Linked DNA regions of Homo sapiens: all the other regions are linked to region 3. Evidence: promoter capture Hi-C in human tissues and cell types (Jung and others, 2019). All regions are on one chromosome and are shown on one strand. Each heading gives the region's core, a stretch centred on a gene start or on the middle of the fragment in contact. The rest is flanking DNA. Distances are from core to core; before and after follow the strand shown.

Region 1 (4,714 bases), core at 1,695-4,194, 340 kb after region 3:
CCTGGCAGGTGGAGTACCCGATTGAGGACTCCATGAGTGAGCTGGTCGTCTCCGAGATCTTCGTCAGCCAGACAACCTTCGTGGGCATCGTCCCTCTTGCCATGGTGAGGAATCTGGGGGTTTCAGAGGAAGTGTCACAAAGAAGTTTTCTTTAAACATGATGCACTGTATAATCTGTTATTTTCCACATACCTGATACACTGTTTAAACAAGGAAAATATACTTAAATTGCATTTGATCTACCTGCTTTTCATAATGGCTCCTTGGGAACTATTTAAGGTCTACCATGTAAATCCCTTTTCATTTGTGGATATTGCGGAACTGTTTCCTGGGGAGCCCTTATTCTTTATTTTCTCAATCTGCGTGCATATCAGGACTGAGTGCTGCGCTGAGTGAAAACAGTTTTGTTGAAATGCATCAGGGTTACACGTTGGGAACAGTGGCTCTATATGCCAAGTAACTGACCCCTTGTCAATTGGCTTTGCCCTTAAGTCTCCCAGGTAACTTATGGATTGGAAAACTCTAAAATGCAGATGGACTGAAAGAGCCTTGCTGGGAACTGACCACTTTAAGCTGGGTAGAGCCCCAGAGTCCACAAAACTGTCTGTGTTTCTGCTTCACTGGCCTGGAGGTGATTGGATTTCTTCTCCTGGGCTTGGTTGAAGTTACGTTCATAGTCAAGCTCAGGGGCTACATCTGAGATCAGGGTCATGGGTGAGATTCCAGAGCCTAAATTCCAGAGATTCCACGGAGACAGTAAGTCCATGGGTACTACCTGCTTAATACCCTTTTCCACACTGGAAATGTTCAACCATTTTCTGCACTGCCTTGACTTTCCTGTCTGGTACCAAAGTGTGGGATCCATGTCCAGATACTCTAGAAAAATCTGTGGGTGCTTTTGATCATTCATCATGCAAGTTAAACAACAAAGTTGAGACTCCTTTGAACCCTATATCTTAGAATTAATTCTGCCATCCCCGAATCTCGAGTGTCTCAAGTGCGTTGAATGTGTCTCTCTGCTGGAACACACTTTCCCTACATCTCCCACGTCTGGGTCCTTTTCCCCACCTCAACTGTTAGGGAGTCACCTTCTCTGACCTTGTTGGCTAAAATTGGCCCTCCCTCCCCTGCCAGCTCATCACCCTCTACCTGTCATCATCCTGTTTTATCTTCTTCCTAGACATTATCACTGGTTGATATTTAGGGTTCATTTTCTGTCTTCCTCCCCAGAAGGTGGGATTCATGACAGTAGGGTTATCCTGGTCAGTTGTGTCCACATCTTTCACCCCTGCACCTAGCACAATGGCTGGCACAGTTAATGTTTGTTGAATGAATGAATGGATCTGTGCTTTAGTCCAAGCTTCCAGGGTCATTTAGTTTTTGAAGATTAGACTGACGGAGATCATTCCTATCATCATTGACCCACATTGTGGTTTGAAGGCAGCCAATCTAGACGGGGAAGTACCTGTTAGGGAACAGAGATGGATGGGTGTGGGTTTTAAGGTGGAATGAAACTGCATCCCTTGTGCCTGGGAACCCATCTATAAATTCTCCAGCTCAGCTAGGTCAGGCTGAGGTTGGGAAATCTCTACTCAATGTCCTTACCACTTTGCTCTATGCTTTATCTGTAGCACTGCATTCACTGTGGGTTTGGAAGCTACCACTGCTGCCACCTCCTCTACTTCCACCTTCTCCTTCCTCCTTCTCTTCCTCTTCCTTCACTTCCCCTCCTTCTCTTTCTCATTCTCCTTCTCCTTCTTTCTCCTTCTCCTTCTTCTCCTCCTTCCTCTTCCCCTTCCCCTTCTCCTTTTCCTTATTCCAAAGCAAGTCATGGAAAGATCAGTGGCAATTAATGCTGGACTGCCCCTGCATGAAGTAAGGGCACTAGGGTACATAGCTACATAATGTACAAAAAATGGGCTCACTATTTTCAGAGTCTGATGTGAAGCAGAAATCCCTCTGTAGTTAGAACAGAGCAGCTTTAAATGCAAGGACTTAAGTACACAGGGAATGAAACAGATGAGAAGCAGATGTAGAACAGAAGAGAGCTGGGCACCCTAGTAAGAGTGGGAATCTGCTACTACCCCCAGGCCAGAGGGTGAGGGTGGAGGGGTTATTACCAGAGCCCAGGACCTGGGGGTCACTGCTGCAGCTAGAATCACATTTGAGCAGCCTGGTTAGGGCTGGAGTGTGGGAGAGATTCAACTGTTGCGAAGGATGCTACCTGAGGCAGGGCTGGGAGCGGGGTGAGGAATTACCTGGCTTCTGCCTCCCTCCTCCTGCCAGATCCTGCAAAGTCTTTCACTTAATCTCATTCTGCTGGCTGAGGCATAAGCTTAGGAAGCAGCATCTTCAGGGCTCAACACTGCTATGATCCAGAACTGATCAGAGGAGGGCCAGGAACTGGATTTGAGGGTGACGGGCTCCAGCCAGTGCCATTATCTTGCTTGTTTTATTGCATGATGTGACTCCTGTGAACCAAATCCAGCCTGTCCCTCAGAAGCTTGCATATTCAGAACGTGGCCATGCCAAGTCTCGTTCCTCTCAGGTCTCCTTTTGGCTCCCTCGGCCCAGAATGCTCCATTATGGCTGATTTCTTGTCACTTTTCATTTGAAGGTCAACTCGTGGAGAGGCTTCTCCTGGTTACTCTGGCTAAATTAGTCTCCCCCTTTCTATTTTCACTTATTTGTCCTTGTCTTGTGCAGATCCCATCACAGTCTGTGATCCATGCTTATTTATGAGTGTTTGTGTCCTGTCTGTCTCAGTCTAGGTCCAGCCATAAGAAAGAATGTGAACACGGAAAGTTTAAAATAGAGAATTGTTAACTATCACAGAGGACTGGGATAGTGAGGGATTGGTTAGTTAGAAGTGAAGAGAACTCTAAAGAGTATAGGAATGGCAGATACAGGGAGCAGCTGCTAGCCTGAGGGCTGAACTATAATGCTGAAAGAAGAGGTTTCCCTGCCTATCCCCCCAAAGCAACATTTCTTGAGAGGTTATGGTCACAGCTTACTGAATGGCAGACAAGTTGCTGATGCAGCACTCGAGTAGAGCTTGATGGGAATCTGTCCTCTGTAGTGCTAGGGACAGCTGTTCACAAGTGATGCACTTGCTACCAAACTACTGAAGGTGGACCTTGGGGAAAGCTGCCAGCTGTGAGGTGCTGCTGGCCACCATGAACTGTAGGAGTGGGACACCGAGGAAGCCACCAATGCTGGAGAAGGTCTGTGCATGGCAGGAGCTGCAGAGAGAGGGCCTCAGCATCAGAAAGTCAACCCTTTCCTCCCAAACTGTCTCTCCAGTATGTTCTACTGACAAAGCCTAATATCGTGCCCATTGGAAAAGCAAAAATATTAAAATAGGGCTCAGATCTATTTTCACAGAGCAGGTAATGAGGGGTGAACTTGGAGCTGAGAGGCCATGAATCGATAACAAGCATACTGCAGGTCTTCCACACTGGATTTCAAGCTCCCTGATGAGAGGAGCCATGCTTGTTTTGCTTGCTGGATGTTTTTTCAGCATGGTGCCGAATATATAGTATTTGCTCAGCAAATGAACAAATGGTTATGCCTACCATCAGAGCCTGAGTCCATTGGCTAGAGAGCTCTTGCTTGCCATATTATTAATTTTCCTGTGCTGCGCTAACAAATTACCATAAACTCAATGACTTTAAAAACCTACAGATTTATTCTCTTAGAGTTCTGGAGGTCAGAAGTCTTAAGTAGGTTCCCTGGGCTAAAGCAAAGTTGTCAGGAGGGCTGGTTCCTTCTGGAAGCTCTAGGGGAGAATTTATTCTGTACCGTTTCCAGCTTCTAGAGGCCATCAGCTTTCCTTGGCTCGTGGGTCCACGTGACTCTCATCTCTGCTTCCATCATTGTATCACCTTCTCTGAGTCTCCTGCTTTCTCTTCCCTTTTAAGGACCCTTGTGATGACATGGGGCCCACCGAGATAATTCAGGATAATCTCCCCATCTCAAGATCCCTAACTTCATCACACTTGCAGAGATTCCTTTGGCCATGCCAAGTAACATATTCACAGGTTCTGGGATTAGGACGTGGACATCTCTGGAGGGGGCTGTTATTTTCCTACCACACTTGCTTATGCAGGATTCCAGCTCTCTCTAGTTGGAGCTTCCTCAAACTGGGTGCTCAGGGCTCTCCATCTCTTCTCGCATGATCTGCTCTGTCATTGTGTTGTAGCCCCAGGCTGCTGCCTGCACCAGCTTACAGCTTAATGCCTCCCAGGCTGCTGCCTTGGGAGCTCTCTTGGCCTCCATGTCACTCTAGCACCTCTGACAGCTCCAAGATCCTAGGGATACTACTCTCTCCTCATCGGGGATGCACTTTCATTGTGCTTGGCTCTTCCAGAGGACCCCAGAGCAGAGCTTCCAGAGCACCAAGGAACATGAGTCTCTTAGTTTTCACAGGCATCCTCATCCCCAGGGGGGATGTGGACAGCCACAGGACAGGGGCTGGGTGGGCTCTGGTCACAATTTCACATCACTGTCCTCTAATCCTGGGACTGGGAGGAGGAGACCCGAAGTCAAAGCCCAGCTGGCCTCTCATTCTCCACGTAGCCTCAGGCTGGTCACCTAACCTCCCTTTGCTTTAGTAGCTCATGTGTGAGTTTACAAGCAAGAGTACCTCTTCTGTCTACTTCACAGTGGTGTCAGATGGATAAACTGAGCCATAAAAAATATGAACATGCTTAAA
Region 2 (5,111 bases), core at 1,823-4,322, 310 kb after region 3:
GTTCAGTTTCCTCTACCCCCACTTCTTTCTGTAGGCCTTGCGAGGACCACTCTCTGTTAGTGCAGACTTTCTTTAGGCTGTGAACGGTATCATTGATTAGGTTTCAGTGCTTTTCATAACAAGCATATTCTAGTCATGCCTCCCTCATTAGCTTGATGGGACTTGCTGTTGCCCACATTTTTAAACCATGCATTTAGGCAGTCTTGTAGGTCTCTAACATGGTTGATGAAATGCACTGATTAATTTAGAGTCTTACCGGCTTCCTCTTTAAAGGATGGTTACCTTTATTTCAAAGCTCCAGGAGAGGTGGGGTCCCCCTATTACCCAGCCTGGGCTGCCCTAAATCTGCTGTCCTCCAAGGAGACTGAAGCACTTTCCTTCCTCATTGCCCTGCTGTTGACCTACGTGGAAGCACTTGCCAAGCAGTACTTTAAGTGTCTAGGTAAGAAGCACTTCAAATCTCAGCTTGGATGTTCTGCCCAAGTTGGAGAGTGATGCTCTCAATTATTTTCAACTGAAGGATGCCATTCAATGTTATAGCAATCTGGGATTTTCCTTTCATGGCCTGTGCTGGGTGTGGGGTTGGCAGTTTGAGGAATATTTCAGGCCGATTTCATTTAGTGTGGTCTTGACAAGGTATGGGGGCTTTCCTGTCTACATCATTTTATCCTTACAGGCTTCCAAGGTTCCATACTTTATTCCAGGAGATTTATAAAAGTTGTGGACTGTTGAAAAGTGAGTTGGGTGGTGACTGAGTAGAGTCTTGAGCCACAGATACTTATTGTTCCTTTTGAACCCTCGGTAAGTGTTGACTGTGGACTGTCCAGACTGTTTTTATCTGTATCTCTTTCTTTGTGAAGTCATTCGGGCCCTCTTCTTCTGAACCAGGGGTTTCTTCCTCTCTTTACCTAAGCATAAATTGAGCTGCATTATTACTTTAATTGATTTCTGAGATGTTATTGATCAAGCTAGGAGTTTGACTTTGTCTGAAAAACTCATTTATTGATGAAGCTTTAGGTAATCATTTCAAGTAAGAGTTCCCGCTCAGCAGGTGGCCAGGAGTTGGGGTTGAGCAGCCGGTGGCTAGCAGGAACATGCCTGAGGCAGGCATGACTGACAGGTGCAGTGGTGAACAGGAGACCCGTTTACATCTTAGCCATGCTTGATCATGAGTTGGCAAAGGACTCTGCTCGTTGTTGTGAGTTTAGACAAAGCAACCACCATCCTGACTGTCATCCTTCACCACGCCAAAGGGGAAGAGAGCCCTGAAATTCTCCCACTAGCAATTAAATGATCAGTCCAGACCTGACACACGCTGCTTTATTTACCACTCACTGGCCAAAATTGATCCACATGACCCTACAAGCCAGTGTGTTTTAAACTAGAGGCATCCTCTGGTTCTCTGAGGGTGTATATTTCTATGTCCTGGTCAGAAGGCTGGGAGGATAATGAGAAGAACAGTAAAGGATGATTTAATTTACATGGGAATGCTGAGTTGATGGCTAGGTGTTTTTTCTGTTTAGCATTAGTAGGAATTGCACTGAATATGTGCAATAAATCACTGTGTGTATGTGGATGGTGGGTGAGGGTGTGGAGAAAATCACACACAGCATCCTTTGCTGCCCCCTTCACTTGCAGATCAGTCAGTTAAGCAAATAGCTTTTGTTGGCTGGAGACATCTAACCATGTTGTTAGCATGTTTCAGAGACAATATCTGACTTCCTAGCAGAGAAATGTCTGTGATTACATAATAGGACATTGCAGTCCATGTGCCACGTCTTGTTAGCCTGTGTTTTATAAACCAGCCAGGCTGGTCCCCTGGTGGAGGGACTCAGAAAACATAACTCAGGAGACAGGTAAAGAGGATACCCCCTGATTCTAGTTGGAAAGACCAGCTTACACTCCAGGCTGCGGGGTCCTTGGAACACATTTATTTACTTTGGGTTACTAGAGTCCCATGGGGCTTGTTCTAATGTCCTTACAGAGGATACTGGTTAACGGTGTCTCTGGAGGTGACTTCCTAAGAGCTTCTGGCACAGTCTTCCATTGCTTTCATTTCTAGTAAATCAGGTCTCCTGCCCAAAGGGCATGCAGGTTTCCTGTGGGTTATCTTTGGGGAAAGTGACCTGGACCTGTTGGTGATAAGCTTGGGAATGCTCAGTTAGCAAAATAATAATAATCTCTATAGGATTGTCCTTTGCTTTTGAGATTGCTTTTGAGTAAGTCCCACAACATTAATTGAGCCAATTCATCTGGGAGAAGCAAGGCCTCTACTAGGCCTTTGGTGTGGTTATCATGTTTAATTAAAATGCCAGCTGCAAATAAGAAGCTCCTAAAGCTTACCAAAATCACAGACCATCCCCAAAGCATATCTGCTGTCTGTGTAGACATTTGATCTTGTATCTCTAGACATTTGATCTTATATCTCTAGCTAATTGACAGGCCCTAGGAAATTCTAAAATTTTGATAATTTGTTGACCAAATTTAGTATTTCGGCCTTTCAGAGGAGATTGGATTTGAGCAAGACTGATTGAGTTGAGAGCTATAGGGAGAACCCCTGAGACTATTGCTATGGAATAAAAGATGAAATGCTCCTGATTATTGTAAATACAAAATTGCATGCAGGATTGTGTAAAGACAATGCCAGGTTGGACTGCCAGAATGAGCCAACAGCGCGTGATGTGCTTCCCCCTGCAGAGAGCCTATGAATGGACATGCAGTCAGGGAGGTTTCACATCACCAAGATTCCTATCCCAGAAAAGCAGATGTTCATAGCTCTGGGAATGGAATGCGACCCTTATGGAGAGCCTATAAGTGGACGCATGGGGGGTGCCTGTCCATATGGATAAGATAGGGCTATAAACGCCCTCATCTTGCCACGGCTCTTCTAGGCCTCTTTAGGGTTAAGGCATACTCCCTTCTGAGAATTTCTGGTCTAACCGGTTGTCTAGCTTCACGTCCTGTTTCTGTGGATTGTTTGTAACAAGCTTTTGCTGCAACTGTTACTGCTGATAATATTTTACTAATCATAGGTTATGGAAAGATTGTGTTTCTGTTTTAAGGCTCTGTTAGAAATTACTGACGCACACACTATATTGTAAATTCTTATCTTTGTATACTGTACTTCTGCATACAAATGTTATGTTAAAGAATTACTTCATCCCTATGTGACCATCTCACCTCATAATCAAATGACCCTAAATCCCTCACTAACCTACCCCCACCCTCACTAAACTTAATAATAAATGCTGGTATATCCAGTGCATTGTTGGCACCATGGGACCAGAAGGCGGTGATCCCCCGGGACCCAGCTTTCACTATCTTGTGTGTGTCTATTATTTCTCAACCTGCCAGTCCACCTGGGAACAAAGAGAGAGCCCCGTTGCATTGCAGGCTGCTGGCCAGATCCTGCAATAGAGAGCCTCTTTGGTTCTCAAACAGGACTCACTTACAAACACTTGTAAGTTTGAATTATCTAAGCAGAATGTCTCAGCTTTTGACACAATTGGCATTTCAGGCTGGGGGAATCTCTGGTGGGGAATCTCTACAAATCTCTGGGCATTGTAGGAAGTGCAGCAGCCTCCTGGCTTCTACCCACTGGATGCTGCTAGTAGGACCTCCCCTAACCCTGGGGTGACAACTGAAAATGTTTGCAGACATTGCTAACTGTTCCCTGGGGGACAAAGTTGGTGCCATTTGAGGACCACTAGTTTCAAGGTGTTTCAAGGAAGCTAGAGGGAGGCAAGAAACATTCCCATTTGAGGACATGATAATCTGAGGTTCCTCTTGCAGAGGGTAAGGCATGGAGAGGTTTATTTGGAATGTCATAAGAATGGATAAAAACATGTGAAATGGAAGGGGAAGAATTTTGTAGGACGTCAATCTAGAAATAGAAAAATACTGGGTACTATCAGGGAAGAGTAAAGTCTGAATGGCTTGAGGGGCTGTGAGGTTACGTGGATGTCCTAACTCCAGGTAGCAGGCTTAGGTCAACTTGGTTGCAGCAAATGAGGAGAGTAGATTTTTGTTCTATGGGGTCAAGCGAGAGACTAATAAATGGTGGGTCTCTGATCTCCCTTGTGCTATTGAGTTAGGATCTCCAATGCTTGTCCCTATCTTTGATGTACAAGTAGAGAGAGAGTCGTATAGTAATTGGGAGGGCCTAAGGATAGGAAGGTTTTGAAGGAAGTCCTCAAAGAAACAGAAGACAGGTGAAGACAGTTCAGAACAAGGGTTTTATGTCAGCTTTTGTCAGATCGAATAAAGGGAGAGCCAGTTCAGAAAAGTTAGGAATCCAGTCTCTTGTAAGGTTGAGAAATCCTTCAACTTGTCTTTTGGTAATTGGATGGGAAGGTTCACAAACAGCTTCCTATCTTTGAGAGAAAAGAGACTTTCCATTTTGTGGAGAATTGCCAGATAAAATACAAGATACCCACGTAAATATGAATTTCAGATAAATGAGGAATAATATTTTAGTATATGTATGTTCTATGCAATACTGTTCTCTGTTCCATACAATATTTGGGAAATACTTATATTAAAAATTATGTCGTTTACTTGAAATTCAAAATTAACTGGGTATCCCATATATATTTTAATTTTAATTTTAAGTTCCAAGGTACATGTGCAGAATGTGTGGGTTTGTTACATAGGTAAACATGTGCCATGGTGGTTTGCTGCATGTATCAACCCATCACCTAGATATTAAGCCCAGCATGCATTAGCTGTTTTTCCTGATGGTCTCCCTTTCCCCACCCCACCCCCGACAGGCCCCAGTGTGTGTTGTTCCCCTCCCTGTGCCCATGTGTTCTCATTGTTCAGCTCCCACTTGTAAGTGAGAACAGGACATCTCATATTTTTATTTGTTAAATTAGGTCCCAATTTTGTGGGATGCCATGGCTGAATAATGTACTGGGGTCTGACATTTTTGGAGCTCATCTTTGGAGATTTTGTGTCCTTTGTATGCTAATATTGACAGGTGGAGGAGACCATTTTGCAAGACTCTCAGTCTGGAAAGCATGACAGATTATTCATGTACTGTATAGGGCAGAGTGCAGGTGGATGTCTCTAAGGCTAAGTATTTGTAAGATGTAAGAGGACACTTCTGCAAA
Region 3 (4,689 bases), core at 1,363-3,862:
ATTTCCTCCAGAAACACCCCCTTTAGAGATACAGGCTTAGGGGCATGGTTAATATGCAGAAATCCTCATCCAACCACAAGACAGGCTGAGCCAGGCTGGAATTCTCATCCCTACCCCACGTATGAGCTCAGAGAGGATTAGGGGCTTGTCCAGAGTCACACAGCTGGGGCATGGAAAAGCTACCCTCAAAAGGAGATTCCTCTCTTCAGCGTCTGGCTCAACCACCATCAGCATATTTTAATGGGGAAGTGCCCTTCCCCACTGAAAGGTGCTTTCTTGGAGTATGACCAGGTAGTCCTGAGTGTGGGGTTGGGGGGAAGGCAACTGCCATCTGCCATCACACCTGGGACTGTGTGACCACTGGCTTGGGGACTTGCTGGACTGATTCACAACCCTCTCCAAGCACCGCCACTAAAGCCACAGAATGACCCCTTACCCTGCCAGAAAATGACTTTTATCTTTGGCCACAGTCTCCCAGCCTCACTGACCTGCTTCCTGGTCAAACACACGGTTCACCTTGGCACCAGCACCCCGCGGTCACTCCTGCTGTGGCTCTCCCCTGCTGTCGTCCATTCATTTCTGCTTCACCATCCCCTGCAGAGGCCGGCACACAGTAGGTGCTCAGCTCTGCAGATGCTTATGAACAAGTGAACAGGAAAGAGGTGTTGGGGGCAGCCGGGCACAGAGGACCCTAAGAGAGTCCTGACCACGTCTCCAGGATCATCCTCTTATCTGGGGAAAGGGTCACAGAAAGGGGACAGATGGGCCCCTCGCAAGGCCACCCTAAGCCCGAGGAGACCCCCAATCCCGTCGTCCAGCCTGTTGTATGGCTCTCCACACATTGCAGGCCTTGCCAGGGAGCCCAAAGGGGGCTTGGCCTGGGCATGGGCCCCTTGTAAAGGAAGCCGATTAACAGCCACGGGAAAATCCCTTTACGTCTCCTAATTAACCTGGGCTGGAGACTCACCACCTGCCCCTGGCTTTCTTCCTTCTTTTATCTAGGAAGAACTGAGTGCTGCCTCTGCTAATGAGCTTGTCTGTACTAATCAAGCAGGTGCCCTGTCCCCCATCCCCTCTTGGCAGCCGGGAGTGGGGAGGATTGTCCTTCTGATGTGAGCTCTGGGCCCGCAGAGGAAAATCAGATCTATCATAATAATGGCCATGATGATGAGAATGATAATGTTGACACTGACTCCTTTAAATGAGTTCCGACTTCCTAGGTCAGGGGCTTTGTATGTGTTATTGGGGACACCAGGTGATGTGCAATGCCTTCCATCTCTCAGATGAGAAAACTGAGGCTCAGGGAGGAATAAGGGACTCGCCCCAGCTTGCACAGCTAAGGAGCGGCAGAGCTGGGATTCTCAGCCAAGACTCCATGACTCCAGAGCCTTCCCCAAATCTGTCTTTTCATCACCCCACGCTGCCTTATTGACCATTTTCAAAGAGTTTGACCCACTTTTTCATGGAAAACTGAGATGGCAGAGCAAGTGGCTGGTGTGGTGGGGGCTGGGGCGGAGCCAGGACTCCAAGCCACCCTCCCAGGTGGGCAACCCCCCATATCCCCTGTCCTCCCAGCGTGGTGGGGAAGCTTGAAGGCATCTGAGCGCTGCTGGAGGCTCCCCCACATGCTCCCAGCATGACTCATTCATTCGGCTTAGCCCCCCGTGGCTTTGCCCTGGTTGGGGGTGGGGCGCCCAGGAGGATCAGTGGTTTCTGGGATAATAGGTACTGGGGCTCCGTGTGACCTGTGACCTCCCTCCGCACTCTGGCTGCGTCCCTGCCCCTGGATGGAAGAATTCGACCACCTAGTACCCGGCCCTGCGCAACACCTCCGCTCCGTCACTGCCTGACCCTGCGCTGGGAACTCATTCCCGGGACCGCCAGGGAATCTGCCCTTCCCAGGAGAACTCCTGGCTGCCTCCGCGTGCTCCTAGGGCCTGCGCGAAATGGGAAGGCGCATCCTCTAGCCTGGGTAAATAAGGGACCCTGCCTCACCCGGGTGGCCATCCCCAGGCCGCCTTCGCTGTGTTTCAGGTCACCGCACCCAGCCTGCGCACCCCTAGCCCCCATCCCGGTGCCGTGCAGAGGCTCTGCACACAGCCTCGGCCTCCCGGAGGCCCTCCCCTCTCTCCTCTCCCCTCTCCCACAGGCACTCCCTAGCTGTGCCACATTTAACCCGGGACCTCCTGTCCGCGCTCAGTCTTGCAGTCTCTGGCCCCGGCAGACACCACCTCTCCAGAGGTCGCTGCCCCATCCCGGTGACCCTCCGCTGGCCTCCTCACCCCTCGACCTTGGCAACTCCTACCGCTGCGCCCCAAGACGCCGGATCTAGCTGGGCATCCCCTCTCTGCATTGCGCACCCCTCCCGCAGCCCCTGTACCCGCGAGCGCCCGCGACCCCCGGCGGGCTCCCGGAGCCTCCCGGCCGGGCGCCCTCCCCCGAACCGCCGAGCAGTGGCGCGTCCCGCCGCCTACTGGCCGGGCTGCCGCCTGTGCCCCGGCTCCCGGGCGGCCCCTCCCCCGGCCGCGGCCCCGCCCTCCGCTCCTCTCCTCCTCCTCCTCCTCCTACTCCTCCTCCTCCTCCTCCTCCCCCCGGCGCTCGCTCGCTCGCTCACTCTCTCGCTGGCTCGAGGGGCGGCCGGCAGATGGCGATGGCAGAGGCGGCGGCGGCGGCGGCGGCGCGACCGGGATGGGACGGGCGCTGGGGCGCAGGAGCCGCGGCGGCGGCGGCGGCGGGGGCCGCGCAACTCGGGCCAACTGCGGGGCAGCCGGCCAGGGCGCGGGGCGCTGAGCCTCGGCCGCCCCAGCTCCCCAGCCACGCACGGCCGAGCCCAGGAGAGCGCGCAGAGGCGCAGCCGAGGAAGCGCCGCCAGCGCCGGCGCATGCGTCTGGGGAGGAGCGGCGCGCTGGGAGCGAGCCATGCCCGGCGCCCGGGCGTAGCCGCCGGGGGCTGCTCCGGGAGCCGCGGGCCGGGCCGGGCGCGCGAGAGGAGCAGCCCCGCGCCGCACCCACCGCGCGCCGAGGACCATGCCGCCCCCGGGCCGGGCGCCGCCGCTCGGGCTCCTGCTGGCGCTGACTGCGCTCCAGTGCCCAGGTAACGCGTCCCCGGACCCCATCCCCGACCCCGGCCGAGGCGCACAAAGTTGGGTGAACGGGCGGCTACCTCCTTCTCAAGTCCCTGGCAGCGCGCATCTCCCGGACTTGGACAGACCTGGGGAGACCCTGGGAACCCAGGAGCCCCCGGCGCGTTCCCCTTTGCCTAGCGCCTGGGGAGAGCCCGCCTGCCTTCTCCCCCAAACCCTTAGCTTCCTTGCGGATCCTTTCGGGACGCACGGGGGCCACAGACCGGGGCACTCAGCCTCTCGAGGCGGGTGGGGACGCGACTGCAGGAATCGAGCCCCCTCCCCGCCCTGCCTTGGGCCAAATCCCCCCCAGGTCCCAGTTCCTCCAGGGGTTTTGCTGGGCGGGGGCGTCGACGCAGCCCTTCTCCAGTGTCTTGCTGCCCGCGGTCGCACAGTGGTGCGTTCCCGGGACACCTGCGGGCCCCGGAGATGTCTCGGCCGGCGCTGTCTGGCTTGTCCGCAGCCCCTCCCCACGCCCCGCGGCCCTCCCCTGCTTTCACACTGCCCTCCCCAAGCTACCCACCCTCGCCAAATGGCCTCCTCTTGGCCAAAGAGCAGCCCGCTGCGCGCCTCCTGCAAACGCGGTCTACTCCAGCGCCCTGACCCCAAGGCGGGCGGGAGAGGGTAGCCGCGGCCAAGCAGTCCAGGACGCGCCGGGGAGCCTGGAACGCGGTGCTGTCCAGAGCCATTGCCTGGGCACCGGGGAGCTGGACTCCCTGCTGAACCAGCTCAGCTGTCGCCCAATCCTAGTGAGTGGGAAAAGCAAAATAGTCAGGTATTGTCTGTCTTCGCTGGAGTTTGGAAAGCTTTCTACCCACCTTGGTGTGGCTACATGTTGGTTCTATAGAAAGCGTATCCTAAAATGACAATTCCTCCCCTCCCCCCACCCCATGCAAGCAGTGGAGAAAATCCTAAAGGCTCAGATGAACCCCGGGAACAGTCACGAGCAGCCTTCATGTGCTTTTGAAATCTCAGTTCTCCAAACCTTTTAAAATCAAGACCCATGATTTGGGAACAGGTAGCTTTTGCTTTAGAAAATCTCTCCCCATTTCCTTAACAAACAAATCGCACAGACAGGCAGAATGCAGTAGAAAAATACAACTATAACTTTTCGGCTTTCACTGTCTTGGTAAGGTTGCAGTTAGGAGCAAACCTGGCATGTCAACTTGATGTTCGATGTATTTTATTTGCATGGAAAAAGTCAGTGTCGGCTTCCTTTGAGATGCCCTTAAGTGACCCAAAATATTTACCAACACCTTCGACTTGAAGAAAACCTTCTATTGGAGATCTCCGTCAGCGTTCGGCTTTGGTTCAGCCTAGAGAATGGCATTGGGCTTAACGTGGATGAATCTTGCCTGCTTGGCTAAGGAGCAGCTATGATAGCTGTTTTGCTTTCGGCATTCCTCTGCGGTCCACGAGAGGGGCTGCTGCTGGGGCCGAGGCTGTTTTCTCTTAGCTGAAGCCCTGGGACCTGTTTGCAAAAGTGCAGTCCCTCGGACTTGAAAATTGCAGTTTTGTCTCTATTTTGTTTCTCCACGGGGGTCAGCATTTGCCTGGATGTGCTTATA
Region 4 (4,958 bases), core at 1,913-4,412, 500 kb after region 3:
TCACAGGCACTTTTTGCAGGTCATCCACCAGCGTTCTGGCCTATTTGGGCCTCAGCAGGGCTTTTCTGATTTAAAGAGAGGAACAGACCACTTCATTTTTTCCCATTTTTTTTTTACTTAATATAAATGAATAAATAAAGCCAACATGTAGTTTCCAAATATGTGATATAGTTTAAATGTTCACATTTGAAGATGTAAATGCCTTTAAGTTGCAGAAGGTATAATGCATAACTCACAAGATGCCTACAAGATTTGGGAACATCATTCCCAGTGCAGTAAAGAAATGTGGTCAGAAGTTTTCAGTGGTGTGTTGAGGATCTGCTTTGCACAATGGTGACAGCTTGGCTGTCACTGGTCATGTAGCTTTCTTTGAACATGACACCAAAGGGCCCAAGTTGATTGCTGTCAAGAACGTGGGGCCTGAGAACTCAGTTTGCCCTCCTTTGCCTGCTAAGACCACCTGATGGAAGCTTTGGCTTCTGTCTCCTGTTTCCAGTACGTGGGGATGCCTGTGTGCATTTGTGTGCATGTGTGTGTGCGGTGTCTGTCTTAGTGAGTGTCCTTGGTGGTCTGGACTTTCTCTCATAGCAGCCTTTGAAGGAGATGCAATGCTTAACTCCCTTCTTGGAGGAGGGGAGGGAGGAGCACAGAATGCAGGTACAAGCATTGGAGGGTAAGAACCTGAGCCCAGGGATGTCTGAGTCAGGAGTACTCACTAGGCTGTTCCAATGCTGCATGAGTGATACAAGAGAAAACTAGGAATTGCAGTGAGGAACAGAACAGCTAAACAGTAGGGGAGCAACGAAAGACTGGTCGGGCGCAGATCCACCTCTTCTAGAGCCCAAGTTCTGGCAGTTGTTTTATAAGATTCAAAGGTCCTGTTTTTGGTGAGACAGAACACAGTGACAGAAAGATAAAAGGCAGAACTCTGTTGCTTACAGTTCCAAAAGAGAGGGAACTTCCAGGCGGGACTATGCAGACGGCTGCGTTGTGGGTGAAGGCTGCATCATGGTCAGGGAAGGCTGCGTCATGGGCAGTGAGGGCTGCGTCATGGTCAGGGAAGGCTGTGTCATGGGCAGTGAGGGCTGCGTCACGGGCAGTGAGGGCTGTGTCATGGTCAGGGAAGGCTGCAGCATGGGCAGTGAAGGCTGCGTCATGGTCAGGGAAGGCTGCGTCATGATCAGGGAAGGCTGCGTCATGGTCAGGAAAGGCTGCGTCATGGTCAGGGAAGGCTGCGTCATGGTCAGGGAAGGCTGCGTCATGGGCAGTGAGGGCTGCATCATGGGCAGTGAAGGTTGCAGGGCACATAATGTGTGGCGAGTGCAGTGGCTTGGTTAAGTTTCCAGGGCTCCCTGTGGACTGGCAATTTGAGGACTTTCTTGGGCTCTTGGGCTCAGAGCTGTCTCTAGTTGTTTGATACCCAGCCCTAGAGCACTAAGGGAGATGCATAGTGGCTTGGAGTGTGGAAACCCATAAGGGAAGTGGTGGGGGACATGGACTTAATCAGATACTGAAGAAGGGGAACTGCCCCTGCCTTTTGCCAGAAGCCTCAAAAGTGGATCAGGACAGCATCAGACAAAGAAACGAACAAACTCTATTATACAGCCAATAACTTCAGGGAATGGTGGACTGTTTACAATGAGAAATGCCTCCCCTCTTTCCCAGGCCAGTTCCCCCAGGACATCTGTGTCTTGCAGAACCAACTGAAACAGTGAACTAGAGAAATTCCTCTTTTTCTCAGTAGAGGAAATGGAGCCACTGAAAGTTGGAATGATGATTGCAAAACATGCCGACAAGCAGGGCCAGCCCTAGGCCTGTGTGTCTTTTCTCCCAGCTTCCTTTGCTGGCAGTTTTATTGGTAAAACCATCAGTCTTGTTAGCACTCGTGATTCAGTACTGATGACCAGGCATTTTTTTTTTCTGTGTTGTGATTATTCTAACATAATTACTATGGGAAACATGTGTTGTTGAACAAAGCGCTGTAGGCATAGCCATGCCTGATTGGTTTCTATTAATTCCATTCATAAATCATGGATTAAAGTGGATGCAGAAGTGGAGAGGGAGGTGAAAGGAGCTGTGGAATGGTGAGCCAGCCCCTGCAAATTTCCCTTCTGGGGAAGGTGCTGGAAGTTTGTCCATCTCCCTGTTGGCTGCTTTCTCTTCTCCCCAAGCCCTCCCTTTACGTGCATTTCCCCTTCAGATCCCCAGCTGTTAAAAATCACAGACAATTGATCCAGGTATGTTCCTGGAGGATGTTTTTCCAGCCATCACTGTGATCTGCCAAGATGTGTCCAAATGCTGTATTCTGAGTTCTGCTGGGAGGGACCCCCTTCATACAAGCCTTCCTCGTCTGTATTTAGCTTCGTGATGCAACATCACACCCAGTGTCCCAGTTCATCCTCGCAACCCTGCTGAGAGGGTACCATAGCATGGAAAAAAGCTTGCAGCAGAGAATTTAATGTCTTTTGAGGAGCATCTCTGGCATGCCGTTGGGCCCTGGCAGAAATGGAAACCTTGATGTGGGTGAGGTACTGAGTGACCAGTGATTGTGCCTCTGGAACCGTCTTTCATGAGCTGGATTCTTTAGGATCCTCCAAGTCATAACGTTAGGTCAGCTGAGTATGGTCCACTGGAAGACGGAAATGGTAAGTCCAGCCCTGAGCCTGAGCAGGATCAGAGGGCACGAGGAAGCTGCATGGGCAGAATCCAGGCCCCAGGTTACCCACCACTGTTGAACCCATCATCCCTCAGTGTACACCTGTGGCCGGATGACCCCATGTTGCCCACAACTGTTGCAACCCACCATCCCTCAGTACATACCTGTGGCCATATTGAGGGTCTCTGACACCTGGAGGAGGGGGAACACACTGGAGCTTAGTCTAAAGATGAACCCACCAACATGTGGATGTGAGACCAAAATGGTCAGCTGCTGTATCATAGCCATACCCAGGCGTGGCCTTGAAAGGCAGTGGAGAGGAAAGATCTTTACACTGGGCAGAACCTTGAATAGAGCCCTGTACAACCACTTTGTGTGGAAGGGGATGTGGCTTGAAGTGAGAATTTATATGATCTCATGGGCAGTAATGGGTGGCCTGGTGGGCTAATCATGGATCTGAGAGATTGAGGACAAGGAGTTCTGGGGATGAAACACTGGATGATCACCTGAGATTGGACACAAAGTGAAAATCCTTCCGTTGAATGTTAATGTGTTAGCACTCACCCAGACACATCCATCACAGGCAAGGCATTCAACAATGAGTAGACAAGGAGGCCCAGCCCATTGACGTTAGCTGATCTGTCATTGGCCAACCCAAACTGGAGCAATGATCACATGCCCAGAGGGGCCATGGCAGCAGAGACTGAGGAGACACAGCCCCAGCAGTGTGGACTTCACTGCTCAAGCCTGGTTCAGCAGCAGCCACCTCTGAGTGTCCAGCCTGCCAGCTGCAAGAGCAATGCTGTGCCCTGTGATGGCAATGTCCTCGTGGAGGCTGTGCCAGTGCAGGGTCTCTGGGAAGCAGACACCAGGGTGGAGCTGGAAGTACAGGAGATGCCCACTCAGGGAAGGGGAGAGAGGGTGCAGAGGAAGGCAAGGGGAGCCCTCGGACGATGATGCATGTCTGGCACCTGTGAAAATGAGGAGGAAGGAAAGGGTTTAGCAAAGAAGGAGCCCAGATCATAGGGCAGCTTGGAGAAGGCCTCAGCCCACCCACGGGGGAGCTCCCATGCAAGGATGGCCATGGAGGAGCCTCACACCAGCAATGTGGAGCTGTTGTACCCCCGCGGTGCTCACTGGCTGGGAGCATCCCAGGAAAAGCATGTCCTTGGCTCAGATGCTGAGGCCGAGCCTGAGGTGCCCACAGCTAGAGGCTGTCAGCTCTCTGCACTCTGTGGGGTGGGCTCCCTCTAGGAGAGGGACCTCAGAGGGCACATCACTGACTGCCTCAGAGACCAGCCCATCTCTCGAGGCCAGCCAGGCTTCCTGGGGCCCTTCTGTACTGGAAGGGCCAGGAGCTTGTTCCCACTGAAACGTGCACCTGTGCTGGAAGGGGTTTCCCGCTCTTGGCTGCAAGGTCCCAGCCAGCACCTCTCCCCAGGGGGTTCTGGGGTGACTAATGCACAGGCGTTGAATCCCACGCAGCATAGCATCAGGGGAGCCACTGCACAGGAAGGAGGTGCTGGTGTGGGCTGGAGCATGATGCACGTTGGTCATCTCATGTGCTGGACCTTACGGAGCTGCCTGCCTGACAGTGCAGGGGAGTGGCGTGGAAACATGCTGCTGAAACACCAGCTCCATAACAGCTTCTGTGAGAAGGGGATGCTGCCCCCCAACCTAGGGAGAATCAGACCTCTATGTGGTGCTGTGTCCCCAACAGGAAGACCACACAGGACCAGGACTCAAGGTGCAGAAGCAGGAGTGGCCCCACTTCCCATAGTCCCCAGGTCCTCAGGGGGAGTTTGTGTTGACATAGTCACAACTCTGGGCTCTGTGTGCTGGAGGTTATGGCTGAATGTGGGGTGCCTGCTTTCTGGGGGACAGAGAAAGGGTCTTGTTAAAGTGCAAGCTATGGCCACTGCCTGGGCTCCTGGACTCCTGCATGTGAGGACCAGCAGCAAGGGAGTCATGTGGCCATTTATCCAGGGCACCTAAAACTATGGTCACACATGAAGGGAAGGAGGAATGAGCGTGGAGCTCAGGTAACCCCCATGGGTGCCTCTTGCCCCATTGTGACTGTGAGTGGACATGGGCGGCACTCCAGCCTCTGGAGGGCATGGCCACCAGGGCTTGAGGGCCCCAGGGAGGGAGGTTTGGTCCTACTAGCATGTGAGCCACCAGGACCAGGGGAGGGGAGGGTTGGTGGGAGAATCTGGAATGGACATTGGCAAGGAAACCATGAACAGCAGAGGTGGCCTTGAGATCAACTGCACGGTTGGGGCCTCCATAGCCTGGCGCGGTG
Region 5 (5,043 bases), core at 2,321-4,820, 360 kb after region 3:
CTCTCCATTTTCAAGCATCATATTCAGCCCATCAGCAAGTCCTAGGATCTGTAATCTCCAAAATATACCCAGAGTTCAACCATTCACTCCGTCTCCACTGCCAGCACCCGAGCCCAGCCACCACCATCTCCTGCCAGACCGCCTGTCCTGGCCTCCTGCCTGGTCTCCCTGTTCCACTCCCGTGTCATTGTCATCTATTCTCCACACCACAGCCAGGCCCTCTATTTAATTCATTAAACAGATTGTATGAGTCCCCTGATGAAAATCTCTGTTGGCTTCCCATTGCATTGTGAATGACGCCATGACACACACATTCTTAAGTGGCCGAAAGAGGTCTGTGTGCCTTCTCTTGCCCACCCTCTTCCCTCACTTCTCATCCCTTTCCTATACTTTCTGGCCATGCTGGCCTCCTTTCTTTTCTGGAATGGGCCAATCTTGTTCTCACTGCAAGGCCTTGGAACACGTCCTTCTCTCTGACAGGCTCTCTCTGACCCCAAGAGCAGCTCCATCTTCTCCCCGCCCAGGTCTTAGGTCAGATGTGTTCCCCTCGATGAGGTAATGGTGCTGTCTCTCAGTGACCCGTTGTGACACCCATCTGGTTTCTTTCCTTCGCAGAATGAGCACTCTCCAAAATCCTCTGGTTACACATGTGTTTGGCAACTTATTAGCTCTCTCTTCCTGGGAATGTAAGCTCCGTGAGGGCAGGCCCTTGTTCATCTTCACAATTCTTTGATGAATGGTTGGCTGTCATTTTGAGTGAACTTTGACATGCAGTCATTCATAATATTCCCCTATTATGCTTTTGATATGTCTAGACTCTCTAGTGATGTCACCCTTCTTATTCTGGCATTGATTCTTTGTCTTCTTTCTTTTGTTCCTGATCAGTCTGGCTAGAGTTTTATCAATTTTAATAATGATCTCAAATAATCAACTTTTGATTTCATAGATTTTGCATTATATTTTCATATTTCATTGGCTTTTGCTGTCATATTTGTGATTTCTTTTTGTCTGCTTACTTTGGTTTTAATTTTCTCTTTTTTAATATATTAAGGTGAAAGCAGTCACTGATGTAGACCTTTCTTTTCTCCCCTATAGACATTTAGTGCTATAAATTTTCCCCTAAGTTCTCATAAGTTGTATTTTCATTTTTCATTCAGTTCACAATATTCTCTAATTTTGCTTTTGATTTTTTTCTTTGGTCCATAGGTTTTAGAAATGTGTTACAGATTTTCCAATGTTTGGGGGCATTTTCCAGATATCTTTCTATTACTGATTTCTAACTTTTATCCCACTGTGGCTGATAACATACTTTATATGACTTAATTCCTTTTATATTTATTAAGACTAGCTTTATGGTGTAGAGATAATTTCTCTTGATAAATGCTCTGTGCACACTGAGAAATGTATTCTGCTGTTGTTGAGTGGATTATTCTATAAATGTCAGTTGGTCAAGGTGGTTGATTGTTTTGTTCAAGTCTGCTAAGTCCTTGCTGATTCTTTTCCCACTTTTTGATATCAATTATTGAGAGGGGGTTTTGACATATCCTACTATTGTTGGAGATTTGTCTGTTTTTTGTTGTAGTTCTATCAGATTTTGCTCTATCCATTTTGAAGCTCTGTTATTAGATATATAAAATTTAAGATGGTTATATTACATTGATTAATTGAACCTTCTATCACTATGAGACTAACTTCTTTGTCCATGGTAATATTATGTGCTATAGAATCTACTTTATCTGATACTGTTATAGCCACTGTGGCTATCCAGTCCCTAATCCAGACTTTTCAGGACCTCTACAGTGACTACTCAAGTCCACCAGCATCTCTTGCCTGGTTTGTGGTGTAATCTCTCCTAGTTCTACCCTGGCTCATTACAGTCTGCTCTCCACGCAGCAGCCAGACCTATCATGTCTGACCTCTGATCCATTGTTCCACTGTCATCTTCTCTCACTTAGAAAAACGTCTGAAATCCTTATCATGACCTAGTAGAGCTCACCAGATCTGGCCCCTGGCCACCTTTCTGACTTCACCTCCTAATCACTCTCTGTTTCCTTGGTATCTCCCCTCCAGCCATATTGGCCTTGTTGCTGTTTCTCAGATGTGCCATACATGGTCTTGCTTTAGGGCCTTTGTACTTCCTGTTCCCTCTGCCTGGCCTTCTCTTCCTCCAGATGTCTACAAGACTCATGCTTTCAGTTCAATCTGGTTTCTGCTCAAATATCACCTGGTAAGAGCGGCCTTCCCTGATCACCCTGGAGAGAACGACCAACTCCTTTTATGCTGCTTCAGTTTTCTTGCTTTGTTTTTCTTCATAATAATCATTGTCACGACACATTTTGCTATATCTTTCGCACCTGGAACAGCAGCTGACACATATAGAGAGTCCTCAACAAATATTTGTTATTGAGCAGGAAACTTGAGTTTCAGAAGGAGCCAGGCAGCCTCTTATGCGGGAGCTAGGGCTTGACCCTGGCACCCCTGATTCTGTCTGTCCTGACACTGTCTCTTCTGATACAGCCTCTTGGGGTTTTGCATCACTGGACAGATGTTCACTAAAACAGCCTTCTCTCTCATGTATTTCTTGGCACACAGGATGTGACTGCATGGGCCTTGAAAAGTGAGAGGTTGGAGTGTCAAATAAATATGGAAGAAATTTAATTAAATAAAGGTAGGTAGATTTCATTACCACAGGACTTCTTAAGAGCCTTTAATATGCCAAAGTGCTTTATAAATCTCACCCTAAAAGGTGAGAGTGTTCAGCATTCCTCAGCTTCCATAGTGCTATCCTGCCTAAATGACTTCCTCAAATCAAGGGAGGAGACATAGACAGATGCAACCCTGTGAGTCCACCGAGACCTGGTGTTTTAAAGAAGTGAACGCCTTCACGCCTGTAATCCCAGCACTTTGGGAGGCCGAGGCTGATGGATCACGAGGTCAGGAGATCGAGACCATCCTGGCTAACACGGTGAAACCCCGTCTCTACTAAAAAAAAATATATAAAAAATTAGCCGGGCGTGGTGGCGGGCACCTGTAGTCCCAGCTACTTGGGAGGCTGAGGCAGGAGAATGGCGTGAACCCGGTAGGCGGAGCTTGCAGTGAGCTGAGATCGCACCACTACACTTCAGCCTGGGCGACAGAGCAAAACCCCCGTCTCAAAAAAAAAAAAAAAAAAAAAAAAAAAGAAGTGAACACCTGCTTCCTCAAAGTGGACCTCACCAAAGGTGGTGCAAAGCCACTCTGGGAAGCATAAAATCATGTATGAGTTAGAAAAGTTAGCATGAATTTGATTTGCTCTTTGACCTGTACATTAATGCGTACCTCTAACCCAGAGAGAAAACAGCTTGCGTCCATGTTGCTGCTCAACAATGTCTTTCTTCAAGAGTCTGCTAGGGTAGAGGTCAGGATTGTTGGAGGAAAATAATGTCTTTAGATGGTAGATTTGTTTTTTCCTGAAGTTTTTACTGTGGTAAAATATCACAAAACTTACTATCGTCACCATTTTCAAGTGTACAGTTCAGTGTTATTAAATATATTCATACTGTTATGCAGCCATCACTACCATCCATCTCCAGGACTGTTTTCATCTTACAAAACTCAAACTGTGTACCCATTCAACACTAACTCCCTATTCCTCTTTCCTTTCAGTCCCAGGCACCCACCATGGTGCTTTCTGCCTCTGTGATTTTCCTCATGTAGGTAGATTCATAGAGTATTTATTATTTTGTGGCTGGCTTACTTTGCATAGCATGTTGTCCTCAAGGCTCATCCATGTAGCATGTGTCAGAATTTCCTTCCTTTTGAAGATTGAATACTATTCCATTATATGTGAGTAGACCACATCTTGCTTATCCATTCATTCATCTGTTGATGGACACTTGGGTTGCTGCCATGTTATAGCTTCTATGAATAACACTGCTGTGAACATGGGTGTTCAAATATCTCTTCGAAGCCTTGCTTTCTGTTCTTTTGAGTATATTGGAGAGCAGGCTTTTAATTATTTTGGTATCTTATTATACAGGGTGCTAGACGAGCGTCAGCAATGTGGCAGCTGTTGGACTGTGTGATGGCCTCCATTCTGATGATGCTGTTTGCTTTCTCAGGAAATGAGAAATGCATATTTCAGATCTAGGAAGGTGATCCCAGAATATGACCCTTATTCAGTCACTTATTTCAGTTGCATGTAACAGAAAGTCTAACAGTCCAGGGATACTTGGGGTTTTAGAAACAGCTGAATCCAGGGACCCATATATGTCTTTATTCATTTCTAGGCTCTACTTTTCTCAGAAGTCCAGACAGTCTCTGTCAATGTGGTGACCCCTATCATACTTATAGCTTAAAAATTCAGTTATATGATAATGCAGTCATCCCTCCCTATCTCCAGGTTCTGCATTTGTGGATTCAACCAACCATGAATGGAAAATATTAGAAAACTTAACAATAAAAAATAATACAACCATAAACAACAATACAACAATAAACAATACAAATTTAAAAAACCAATGTTGTCTAACAACTATTTACATAAAATTTACATCGTTTTAGGTCTTATAAGTAGTCTAGAGATTATTTAAACTACACAGCAGGATATGAATAGGTATATGCAAATACTGTATCATTTTATATAAGAGATTTGAGCTTCCTTCAAGTTCTGGATCCTGGAGCCAATCTTATGCAGATACCTAGGGATGACTGTAGTGCTTTTTAAATACCTTCTGCATATGGGTAGCCAGTTCTCCCAGCACCATTTATTAAATAGGGAATCCTTTTCCGTTGCTTGTTTTTGTCTCACACCAGTTAGAATGGCGATTATTAAGAAGATTATAAACATCAGATGCTGGCGAGGTTGCGGAGAAATAGGAAAGCTTTTACACTGTTTGTGGGAATGTCAATTAGTTCAACCATTGTAGAAGACAGTGTGGTGATTTCTCAAAGGTTAGAACCAGAAATACCATTTGATCCAGCAATCCCATTACTGGGTATATACCCAAAGGAATATAAATCATTCTATTATAAAGATACATGCATGCTTATGTTCACTGCAGC
Region 6 (4,701 bases), core at 1,172-3,671, 260 kb after region 3:
TGTCAGCAGAGGACACTGGAGGAACATGGTAGGAGGAGGGATCTGCATCTGGAGTGCTGCTCTTTTTTCTTCTTTTTCCTGCTGACATCTGGCTGCAGTGGTGCATGGGCAGGACATCCAGTGTTAGTCACTCCACCCCAGCTGTGAACCCTGAGCGTGTGATCCCTTGGCAAGCTCACAAGCTGGCCAGGCCTGGGTACCATCTTGTTGGGGCCTTCTAGTGTGGACACTGTGCACCCCAGGCCTTGTGCTGCCCTGACACCCTCTGCTTACCCCACCAGCCTGCACCGCGGAGAGTTGGCTCCTTTGACTTGGAGACAGACATCTCACACCTCAGGCCATGTGCTACCCTCCTGGGGAGTGGCTCTCAACACTGTGACTCACCCCTGCCCACCCACCCACCAGCCTCAATCCTTCATCCCAGGATAGAGTTCCCTCCTTGCCTCGCAGGGAGACAGCTCTGGGGTGGGCATCCCAGTGGAATTCTCTGCTATCCTGGGGGCTGCAACCTCGCTTTCTCCAACAAAGTCTGAATCCCAGTCTTGGGGAGGTCTCTCCAGGCCCCCGCCAAGTTGTTCCTTTCTTGGATACTTTTCATCAGCTCCACAGTATTCTTCTGAGTTCTCTTTTTATCTTGATAAGTTCTTCCCCATTATAGTTAATAGTTATTTGTTTTAAATTTTTTTTTCTTGTTCAAATTACTGACTGGACTCCAGCTGATGCTTGGCCTCACAGAACTGTTGTGAGGTGACTCATACAATGCACTTGGATCACAGACTGCAAATAGTAGGTGCTCAATGAATGCTAGTTATTATTACCTTTGGCATCTTAATATTTTCTTATTGATTTGTATGAGCTATTTATATATTAAGGATGTGAACTTAAAATAGAGCTTTAGAAAGTAATATAATAAAGTGGCCTACAGAATATCTAGTTAGAAGACCTAACTTAATGTTCATTAAGAAGTAACCAGGATTAGGCATAACTTTAGAGTAGAAAAAAAAGTTGGATTTGAATCCTGGCTCTGTAATTTGCTTATTTTGGGGAAGACCTTTAGTCTCTTCTAGACTCCTTTTTTCTCATTTGTATAGATGCAAATAAAAATAAATGTATTTTAGGGTTGCTGGGAAGACTACAAGAGATGAAGAATAATAAAGCTTTTAGGGCAGTTTCTCCTACATAGTAGGCACTCCATAAATGTTTCTTTGTCCTCTCCAGTTCAAGTCATATTCACTTTCACACATAATGAAGTACCTCATTTGGCATTCTTAACAACCTCAGGAAGCCACCAAGACTGGTATTGCAGCCGAATAAAAACCAAGGCACAAAGTCATTTAACTACTTACCATCACATGCTGGCTAGCAACCATGAAAGGACCAGAGTATTGCATTTTGGATTTGCTTTTACTCTACTTAAGAACTAATGAGTTACCATGACTCAATGAATCCTTGATTAATTTGATCTTTTGTTGCTTTGAAGTGACCCTCTTTATCTATATCTGTGCTTTTTGTCTTAAAATCTACTGCATATTGCTATTTTATACCAGTTTTCTTTTGATTACTATTTATGTGGCATATATATTTTTTCAAACTTTTAATTCCAACCTATGTTTCAGATATTTTGGATATGTCTCTTGTGTTTTAATTATATTTTTGCCAGTCTGTCAGCCTTTGTCTGTTAATTGGCATATGTTGTTTATTTACACTTAATGTGAAGACTAATATATGTGTTTTAATCTGTGGTCTTACTATGTATTTTCCCTTGTTTACTCCTATTCTATTCTGTATTTATTTCTGTTTTTTTTTGAATTAAATGGAAGGATGAAATAATTAAATAATTAAAAAATTCTCATTAGCTTCAAAGTTATATACCATTTTATTGCCTTAGTAGCTACCCTAGAGAATTCGTCACTTTTATTTATGAAAATCTAATATTATTTGATAACTTTACCACATATCCAGACAATTCCTTATAATATGTTAATTCCATTTATCATGCTCTGTATACGCCATTATTGTTGTGTAGGTTAATATTCTTTTTCTATAAATGATAAGACATAAGTATTATTTTAATAGTCAACACTCACATATATTACACATGTATTTGCTTCTTTTTTGCCTCTTTCTTTCTTCCTACATCTCTAATCATCTGGGTTCACTTTTCTTCTGCCTTTATAGGTATTCTATTTAGTAGTCTCTGCTACAGGTAAATGGTGTCAGTTTTTATTTGTCTGAAAATGACTTTATTTCATTTTTATTCTGGAATAATATTTTCCCTGGCAGTAGAAATCTAAGTTGGCAGTTATTTTCTCTCAGCACTTTGAATATATCATTATATTGTCTTCTGGCTTACATTGTCTCTGTTGAGAAGTTGCTGTCAGTCTATTTTTACTTTCATGGTAATATTTCTTCTTTCTGTGGCTGCCTTTTTAAGAATCAAAATATTTTGAGGTATAATTTAGATACAATACAACATATCCATTTAAAATGTACATTTTGGCCACTTGCGGTGGCTCACACCTGTAATCCCAGCACTTTGGAAGGCCAAGGCATGTGGGTCACCTGAGGTCAGGAGTTTGAGACCAGCCTGGTAAAAGGTGAAACCCCATCTCTACTAAAAATACAAAAATTAGCTGGGCATGATGGTGGGTTCCTGTAATCCCAGCTACTTAGGAGGCTGAGACAGGAGAATTGCTTGAACCCAGGAGGTGAAGGTTGCAACCATTGCACTCCAGCCTGGGCAACAAGAGCAAAACTCTGTCTCAAAAAAAAAAAAATTCATTTTGATGAGTTTTGACAAATTTATTCACCCAACTAATCACCATCAACTAGATGCAGAATAGTGCCATACTGTCTGATCTTAAGTATTCTTTGTGCTTTATCCCAATCAGACATTCCTACTCCTCTTCCCAGGCAACCACAGACCTGCTTTTCATTTTTATAGATTGAATGGATCTTTCCTACAGTTTAATAAAGATGAAAAGATGTGTCTGGCATCTTTTGCTCAGAAGAATGCTTTAAGGTTTATCCATGATGCTGTGTATATCAGTATTCAACTTCCCCATCCCAGTAGTATTCCATTGTATAGATATAATTTATTGTCTATTCACCTGTTCATTGACATTTAGTTTGTTTCCAGTTGCAAGCTATTATGAATAAGGCTGCTATGAACATTCACATACAAATATTTGGGTAAATACTCAGGAATGGGAATTCTGAGTCATATGGTAAGTATATATTTAATTTTATAAGAAACTCCCAAATTGTTTTTCAAAGTGATTGTATGATTTTATGCTTCCTACAGTAATGTATGAGAGTTTCAGTTGCTCCTCATTCTTGTCAACATTTGATATTGTCAGTCTTCAATTTTAGCCATCCTAGTAAGTATATAGGGGTATCTTACTGTGATTTTATTTACATTTCCATAATAACTAAAATTTTGAGCATCTTTTATTGTGCTTATTTGGCATTCATATATCTTTTTTTTTTTTTTTTTTTTGAGATGGAGTCTCGCTTTGTGCCCCAGGCTGGAGTGCAGTGGCGCAGTCTCGGCTCACTGCAAGCTCTGCCTCCTGGGCTCACACCATTCTTCTGCCTCAGCCTCCTGAGTAGCTGGGACTACAGGCGCCCACCATCATGCCCGGCTAAATTTTTTGTATTTTTAGTTGAGATGGGGTTTCACTGTGTTAGCCAGGATGGTCTTGATCCCCTGACCTGGTGATCTGCCTGCCTCGGCCTCCCAAAGTGCTGGGATTACAGGCGTGAGCCACCGCGCCTGGCCCATTCATATATCTTTGAGGAAATATCTGGTCAGTTTATCTATTTTGTCTGGTGTGAGCTTTGGTATTTGTCTTTCAAGGAATTTGCTGAATTAATTTATTTGCATGAAATTGCTTATAACATTCTCTTATTGCCCTTTTAATGTTTGCAGGATCTGTAATACTATTTTATTCCTGATATTCATAACTTTTCTATTTTCTGTTTTATTCTTGACTAGTCTGGCTGGAGATTTATCAATTTTTTTAATGTTTCCCAAGAATTAGTTTTTCATTTTATTGCTTTTCTCTATTGTCTATTTTCCATTTCATTGATTTTACTTTTATCTTTATGGTTTTCTCCTTTCTGTTTAATTTGCTCATCTTTCTCTAGTATCTTGGGGAGTATGGTATGACATGGAAGTGTATCAAATTGTGGGGTTTTTTTTTTGCTTAAACAATAGAAATTTACTTCTCACAGTTCCAGGCACTAGAAGTCAAAGATTAAAGTATCAGTAGGTTAGAGTGGGCCTTAATTCAAAAATCCTGGTGTCCTTGTAAGTAAATATGTTTTATGCATTGGTAGGGGTGTAACAATTCTGAAATAATTTTAGAAGTTTTCAAGAGTAAGCAAATGAGTCAACATTTTAGTGTAGTTGGGAGCCAACCAAAGAAATGACATTTGAATATTAAATGTAGAAAGAGTCTTGTGGCATTGAATTGTAACTGGAGGTAGTGGTATGACTTATGATTTCAAAACTGTGTATTCACATTTGTACCTGTATATATGGGTATGCATGTATGTTTAACTGTATGTGTATGTGGATTTGTACATGTTATATGTACATGTATATTTTTAGCTCTGTTCAGTAGAAGGGCTAAGAATCAATTGCATTTCAGTAGCTATGAGGATAACTTGCAGTCAAATTTTACCATTTTATATTCT

Evidence for each region. The method cuts DNA at HindIII sites, captures the fragments that hold promoters and counts their contacts. A contact is called where the count stands out against the background at its distance.
Region 1: a contact is called between a fragment that was not itself captured here and the fragment with the promoter of TMEM132B in region 3, in 2 of the 25 tissues and cell types used here (H1 embryonic stem cells and dorsolateral prefrontal cortex).
Region 2: a fragment that was not itself captured here is called in contact with the fragment with the promoter of TMEM132B in region 3 in 2 of the 25 tissues and cell types used here (H1 embryonic stem cells and dorsolateral prefrontal cortex).
Region 4: a fragment that was not itself captured here is called in contact with the fragment with the promoter of TMEM132B in region 3 in 1 of the 25 tissues and cell types used here (H1 embryonic stem cells).
Region 5: a fragment that was not itself captured here is called in contact with the fragment with the promoter of TMEM132B in region 3 in 1 of the 25 tissues and cell types used here (dorsolateral prefrontal cortex).
Region 6: a contact is called between a fragment that was not itself captured here and the fragment with the promoter of TMEM132B in region 3, in 2 of the 25 tissues and cell types used here (dorsolateral prefrontal cortex and liver).

What each region holds. Positions count from the first base shown.
Region 1 is chr12:125,519,522-125,524,235 of GRCh38, forward strand. TMEM132B (transmembrane protein 132B) reads left to right here. Exons shown (of 9, transcript NM_001366854.1): 4 at 1-104. Among named protein-coding and RNA genes, the nearest start is that of TMEM132B, 340 kb to the left of the region's middle. The HindIII fragment of the contact is 5,080 bases long and covers 405-4,714 here.
Region 2 is chr12:125,496,780-125,501,890 of GRCh38, forward strand. The region is part of intron 3 of TMEM132B (transmembrane protein 132B); the gene reads left to right. Among named protein-coding and RNA genes, the nearest start is that of TMEM132B, 310 kb to the left of the region's middle. The HindIII fragment of the contact is 5,731 bases long and covers 208-5,111 here.
Region 3 is chr12:125,183,774-125,188,462 of GRCh38, forward strand. It overlaps TMEM132B (transmembrane protein 132B), which reads left to right and starts at 2,613. Exons shown (of 9, transcript NM_001366854.1): 1 at 2,613-3,093. The coding sequence starts at 3,027. RefSeq lists an enhancer at 1,814-2,347 and a silencer at 2,396-2,605. The HindIII fragment of the contact is 11,061 bases long and covers 1-4,689 here.
Region 4 is chr12:125,684,250-125,689,207 of GRCh38, forward strand. No RefSeq gene overlaps it. Among named protein-coding and RNA genes, the nearest start is that of LINC00939, 300 kb to the right of the region's middle. The HindIII fragment of the contact is 7,013 bases long and covers 1-4,958 here.
Region 5 is chr12:125,538,872-125,543,914 of GRCh38, forward strand. All of the region lies in intron 4 of TMEM132B (transmembrane protein 132B), which reads left to right. Among named protein-coding and RNA genes, the nearest start is that of TMEM132B, 360 kb to the left of the region's middle. RefSeq lists an enhancer at 1-376. The HindIII fragment of the contact is 4,820 bases long and covers 1,161-5,043 here.
Region 6 is chr12:125,445,486-125,450,186 of GRCh38, forward strand. The region is part of intron 3 of TMEM132B (transmembrane protein 132B); the gene reads left to right. Among named protein-coding and RNA genes, the nearest start is that of TMEM132B, 260 kb to the left of the region's middle. The HindIII fragment of the contact is 7,222 bases long and covers 1-4,701 here.